2 separate regions of the Homo sapiens genome follow, and region 1 is linked to region 2. The links are contacts of gene promoters, found by promoter capture Hi-C in blood cells and fetal thymus (Javierre and others, 2016). All regions are on one chromosome and are shown on one strand. Each heading gives the region's core, a stretch centred on a gene start or on the middle of the fragment in contact. The rest is flanking DNA. Distances are from core to core; before and after follow the strand shown. Region 1 overlaps PRKCB (protein kinase C beta). Region 2 holds the start of CACNG3 (calcium voltage-gated channel auxiliary subunit gamma 3).

The links. The method cuts DNA at HindIII sites, captures the fragments that hold promoters and counts their contacts. A CHiCAGO score of 5 or more calls a contact.
Region 1: a fragment that was not itself captured here is called in contact with the fragment with the promoter of CACNG3 in region 2 in 4 of 17 cell types (erythroblasts, total CD8 T cells, endothelial precursors and 1 more); the score reaches 7.2 in erythroblasts.

The regions. Positions count from the first base shown.
Region 1 is chr16:24,058,227-24,061,469 of GRCh38, forward strand. The region is part of intron 5 of PRKCB (protein kinase C beta); the gene reads left to right. Among named protein-coding and RNA genes, the nearest start is that of MIR1273H, 140 kb to the right of the region's middle. The HindIII fragment of the contact is 1,911 bases long and covers 841-2,751 here.
Region 2 is chr16:24,254,626-24,257,635 of GRCh38, forward strand. CACNG3 (calcium voltage-gated channel auxiliary subunit gamma 3) reads left to right here and starts at 1,710. Exons shown (of 4, transcript NM_006539.4): 1 at 1,710-2,340. The coding sequence starts at 2,130. RefSeq lists an enhancer at 1,458-2,185. The HindIII fragment of the contact is 7,529 bases long and covers 1-2,543 here.

The sequences.
Region 1 (3,243 bases), core at 546-3,045, 200 kb before region 2:
AACCCCTCCCAGTCACTCCCTATCCCATTACTCTGTTTGCATTTGTTTATTTATTTGCTTCTTGCCTGTTTCTCTCCACTGGATGGAGAGCAAGAACCTTCCTTATTTTTTATGCCACTTTGTGCTAGTGCAGTGCACAATTGACATGTACAGATGCACAATTAGAGTTTGCTGAGTAAATGGCTAAATAGGTTAAAAAAAAAAACCAAAAACGGTGGGCTGCTAGGCAGAAGTGTAACCACACAAGTGAACCTTGAAAGTTACCATGAAACGTAACCTTCATGCCCTGTGAAGGTGCCTTAGGTTTCTGGTGTGTTTGGACCATAGATTGTAGCTATGAAGTCTGATTAATGCCTGAATCAGACATTGAATGACCTGAATAAATAGTTAAAAAGTTGGACTTCTAGGCTGAAGTGTAACCACATGAGAGAAGCATGAATGTTACCATGAAGGTGCCTAGGGTTTCTGGTGTGTTCAGACCATAGATTGTAGCTATGAAGTCTGATTAATGCCAGCTCACAGAAGAGCTTGCTCAAGCATGCTAGGGATTTGGTGAGCCATTGTAGGTGGTAATGACCTGATCTAGTTACCATGGGTGACAATTAAAAAGAAGGATTAAAGATGTAAGGGACTAGAGCTGTAGAGACCCATCCAGGAGCTATTGATCCCTGTAGGATGGAGGAGATGAAACATACATGAATTAAGGAAGTGGAAGGATAAGAATAAATTGATGTAGAGGATCAGGGAGAGGATGGAGGAGTCAGGACTAACAGAGATTTCTGACTCAGGAAGACATGTGGATAGTGAGCGTGATAGCCAATTAGGGTTAGAAGTCACAGAAGCTTACCAGAAGGGAAAGGTAATCATCTTGCTTTAGTATATGTTGAGATGTTTTTGGGTTGCATGGGTGACTGTGTCCAGTAGGCAGATGAATCTGTATATCCAGAGATCCGATTGGAAAAACAGAGCCAACAGTATGGATGCAGGGGTCACCGGCCCTAACAGTGGAAGCTGAATTCTTTGAGTGGGTCAGGAATTAGTGCAGCACTGTAAGAGCAGGAAGGTTCAGGCTCTGGGAAATGGAGCCACTTCAGTCATCAGTGGAGCAAGAGGAGCCAGTGAAGGAGAATTTAAAAATAATGCTTTTAAGTCCAGGTGCAGTGGCTCATGTCTGTAATCCCAGCACTTTGGGAGTCTGAGGCAGAAGGATCGCTTGAGCCCAGGAGTTCAAGACCATCCTGGATGATAAAGGGAGACTCCATTTCTACAAAAAAAAATTTTTTTTTTTTAATGTAGCCAGTGTGGTGGTGCATGCCTGTGGTCCAAGCCACTGGGGAGGCTAAGGTGGAAGGAGCCCTTGAGCCCAGAAGTTTGAGGCTGCAGTAAGCTATGATCACAGCACTGCACTCCAGCCTGAGTGACAGAGTGACACCCTATCTCGAATAATAATTATTATTAGTAGTAATAATTATAGTGCTTTTAGAGAATGAAGGGGAACCAGCCGAGTAAATGGTCATAGAAGCCAAGGGAAGAGAGAATTCAAGAAAGTGGATATGGCCAACACCTTAGATGCTGCCAACTGGTAATGATAAACACGAGGCTAAGAATTGAACAGAGTCACTGGATTTGGTCATTTAACTTAGGGACTTGGGAAGTGCTCTTTCAGTGGCATAGTAGGAGTTAAGAGGCAGGATGCCGGAAAGCCTGGATGCTGGATGTTGAGGAGGGAATTGAAGGAGGGGATGTGGAAAGAGGAGTGTAGACAACTCATGAGAATTTGGGTTGTGGAAGAAAGGGGCCAGGGAAGGCGTCTTAGAAGGAAGTTATTTCTGAGAGGCATCTGAGCAGGTTTATAGCATGAATGGAAGAAAGCAAGGTGCCTGGGAATAGGGATAGGAATTAAGCAGAAGCGGTCCTAGGCTTTGTCTTCAGGAAGATAGGTGTTCAAGTCCCAGCTCTGCCACATGCTGGCTGTGGGACTTTGGGCAAGTTAATGAAGCCCCATGAGTCTCAGTGTCCTCATCTGGCGAGCAGAGAGAGTAGCCTGTACCTTGCAGAGTCATGGCAAGGATGAAACAAGAATGTCTCTCAGGGCCTTCACAGCGCTTAGTGCATAATGAGGGGTTAGTTAGTGAACTCCTACCAAGCTCCTTTGTACAGGGCATTTAGCAAAGACGTCAGTGACCCTGAGAATCCCTAGTCTAAGGTAGGTACCCCTTCCCTAAGCGCTGAACTTCCTCCCTTATGCATGTATCACATCTACAATGTTTCCTTGTGTAGTGGATACTGTGGTGTGCCACCAGGATCCCTCTCTCAGCACAGAGGCACTCCTGCCCCAAGCCACGCAGAGTATTGGCTCTGACCACTCACGGCTTCAGTATTTCCGTAGGATTTGCCCTGAGGGAGCTGCAGTGCCCAAGGTTATGCCCTCTTCCAGGGGCAGCTCACAGTCTATGATTGGTTGCTGGTGGGGAATGGGCTTATAAATGCTCTTCCCCAGCCTCAGTAGGGAACAAGTCTAAGGGGCCATCCCAGCTACAGAGCTCCCTCATGGATCAGGTGACACCTCTGTTGCAGCTACATTGCAGTTCAGTTTCTCGATTTCATCCTGCTTCCCCCATTCCTTGCAGGAGTTCCTCCCAAGGTTATTCCCTGAGAAGCCGCCTGCATACAATATCCAGATCAGTCTTTTTTCAGGGAACCCGACTTAAGATGCCTTGTTTAATGTTTGTATCTTTTCTCTAAAATATAAGCTTTTTGTAGGGACTGACTATTCTGTCTTGTTCATTTTGTGTCACCATGTCTAGGTACATAATAGGTGCTTGTTAATAATTTTTAATCTTTTTTTTTTTGAGACAGGGTCTTGCTCTGTTGCTCAGGCTGGAGTGCAGTGGCATGATCTTGGCTCACTGCAACCTCCGCCTCCCGAATTCAAGCAATTCTTATGCCTCAGCCTCCCAAGTAGCTGGGATTACAGGTGTGCATCACCACACCCAGCTAATTTTTGTATTTTTAGTAGAGACGGGGTTTTGCCATGTTGGCCAGGCTGATCTCAAACTCCTGAGCTCAAGTGATCTGCCCACTTTGGCCCCGCAAAGTGCTGGGATTACAGGCATGAGCCACCACATGCGGCCATTAATTGAATAAGTGAATGAACAGGTTTCCTAAACACACACACAGGAGTGCCCTGATATATACAGTTTTTCAGAGTTGTGATTAGAGAATAGGTTATCTGGAAGTGCC
Region 2 (3,010 bases), core at 460-2,959:
CACATGAGTATTTATCTAACACCAAGAATAAAGTCTTCAGTCTTAACACCAAAATGAAAGTAGCAAAGTCACCAAGAAGTTGTGAGCTGCATTTGCGAACCCTTCAATATATTCCTGCTACCCAGTCACCTGAATAGAAGTTCCCAGGCAGCCAGAGATGGCACCAGGGGAGTATGTTTGTCTGCGATTACCTCCCGTTATATTTCTGTCCAGCTAAATAACATTCAAACATGACAGTTGGTTGCGGACACATCTCAGGAACTGTGGAAACAACCCAAGCAACCTCATTTCCAACTATCTGACCTCTGGATATCAGTCCCAGGATGCCATAAGAAAAAAAATAATAAGGGCATTTCTGTGGGCTGTTTCTAGTCAACTCGGTGTGTGCCCATGCATATGCCGGAATACATAGTAATAAAAAGCTGGTTAAATGCTGGTCCTTTGCAATACTGGCTATTTCCAAGGAAGAGAGCTTTCAGGTGTGCAATGCCATTTGCCCTTTGGACTAACAAGCAAAGCAGACCTAACTTCACCTGCTTCATGGTCTCACTTAGATAACAATGTTAACAAATGATATCTCAGAGACCTTTGAACAAAATCTGACATTTTCAGTGACTCTCCCACCATGAATCCATCACCCCCTTCGATGTAGATATGTTAAAATGTATAAAAGGCATATTCAAAGGCCAAAATCTTATAGTCTTTTGCCCAAGGTCCCTAATATGTGTATGACAGAGTCTATGTATATTTAGCTTCTTCCATCTTTTAGGAATACATGATCATGTATATATGAACAGTTCCGGGTCTGATCTGAGCGGGTTGTCTTCGGTGTAAACCAGAGCTCCAGAGAAAGGAGGGTAGACATATTGGTTTGTTTGCTGGGGAACCAAATTGAGACAGACTCTACACAGATGTGATTGTGACAACACTTTTTGCCCGCCTAAGCGAGCCATAGAGCCGTCTCCAGAGCTGCCGGTGCCTTTAAGAAGACTCGGTCTTTCGGGTCTTCTTTTTCCCCAATGGGCTCCAGTGGTGCCCGCAGCAAAAGGCAAACTTGCCTGGCTCATGGGGTGAAAGGGAGGATTGAAGAATGCCGCGTTGGGTGGGTGCTGAGGGAGCGCCAGAGTGCGCTACGGGCTTCGCTCCCCTTCCCCTTTCCTTAACCCTTCCTAGAGCGGAGGAACCGGGTCGTGCTGCAGCGCCCAGGAGCCAGGGCGCTGACTGTCCTCGGCTCCAGAAACTTTGCGCGGAGAGTGGGCTTGACTGGGCAGAGCCGAGCCGGCTGGCTGACCCGGGAAGGAACGGGGGAAGGGCGGGGTGAGGGAAGAAAGACCCTTTAGCACCCCGGGTTTCTAGCCCGGGCGGCGGTGTGCAGCTGCATGAGGGAGCTGTCCCTTCGGCACCACGGACCTTAAAGCCTAGGCGTTAAGACGACGGAGGCGGGGCAACAGGCGGGGAGCTGTCCCTTCAGCACCACGGACCTTGGCGCCCCCAGGGAAACCAGCCGGCCCCCGCCCCAGGACTCTGTCTTTTCTCCAGTTTGAGCGGGGGTGTCGGGAGCAGGCGGAGAGCTTTCCTGCGAGGCTGTGGAAGCAGTGAACACTCTTCTCAGCGGCTCGCCTCCCAGCAGTGCTATTTTTTGCCATCCGCCCTCACCCCCAGCACACGCGCTCGCACACACACGCACGCACGCACACACACACACACACACACTCACACAGAGACCTCTCTGGGTTTCTTTGCCTTGAGTCTCCCGGGGCTGTGAGAAGCCAGGCGCATCTCAAACCGAGCTGGCAGCTCCAGGCTCCGGAGCCATGCCCTGCACGGACCCTCGTCTTTACCACGCTCCTGAGGAATGAAAGGAACCCAGGGACCCTCAGAAGGCAGCAGTGATGCGGACCAACCCCCCGGAGCCTGCACCCTTCCGAGGGCCATAGGCGACCCAGGGAACTGGAGAGAGCTCCAGAAAGGAAATCCCAGCTTTCCCAAAGTCCCTGTGGATGCTGACAAAAGGAGACCTGAATTTTTGGAAGAGCCTGTACTAGGTTACCCGGCTGCAGAGTGATTTTCCCCTCCGGCACTGACTCTCCCCCTCCAACCCCCAGCCGTCCAGAGTACCATGAAGAATTATGAGGATGTGTGACAGAGGTATCCAGATGTTGATCACCACTGTAGGAGCCTTTGCCGCTTTTAGTTTAATGACCATTGCAGTGGGCACGGACTACTGGTTATATTCCAGAGGTGTGTGCAGGACTAAATCTACAAGTGATAATGAAACCAGCAGGAAGAATGAAGAAGTAATGACCCATTCGGGGCTGTGGAGGACCTGCTGCCTAGAAGGTATTTACAATTTCCTCTCAATAGCTCTGAATAATCCAGTTCTGATATTCTGGTGGGTGTTTGGAGGAGATGGAAATGGTGATAAGGAAAGAAGAGAAGTTCAAATTATTGCTGAGAATGTGCAGGTGCCCAGACTCTGTTAACAGCAAGACTGACGCCATGTGGGTTAAAGGGGTTGGGTCTTGTTGATTGTTTTTAGTATAAGCTTCATGAGATGAGATTTTTGTCACACTCTAGGCAGCTTCTGCAGTTTAGAAAAGTCTTCAAATCCAAAATCCCTAGGCATATTGTCAACTGCTTGGATCTCTGGCTTGAGATGGGGTCTTTAACCCTGCTTAAATTGGATTTCGAAGGGAGGGGGAGGGAAGGGAGGAGAAGGGACAAGAGGAAAGAAGTGAGGGGGGAGAGAGAGAGAGAGAGAGAGAGAGAGAGAGAGAGAGAGAGAGAGAGAGAGAGAGAGAGATCCTGACCCGGTCTGGCACATTCTGAGCTATTTCATTATTTCTCAACATAGACTTATCAGTTTCTCCTGAGTTTGCTCTAACTAGATATTGTCATGAACTTCCACTGCCAATCAGTAACAGGGTAACATATGTAAACCCCTACTCCCACCCACACCCTATGCACACATTTTAAGAAAAAATCCTTATTGATACATGTTTTATTAGTT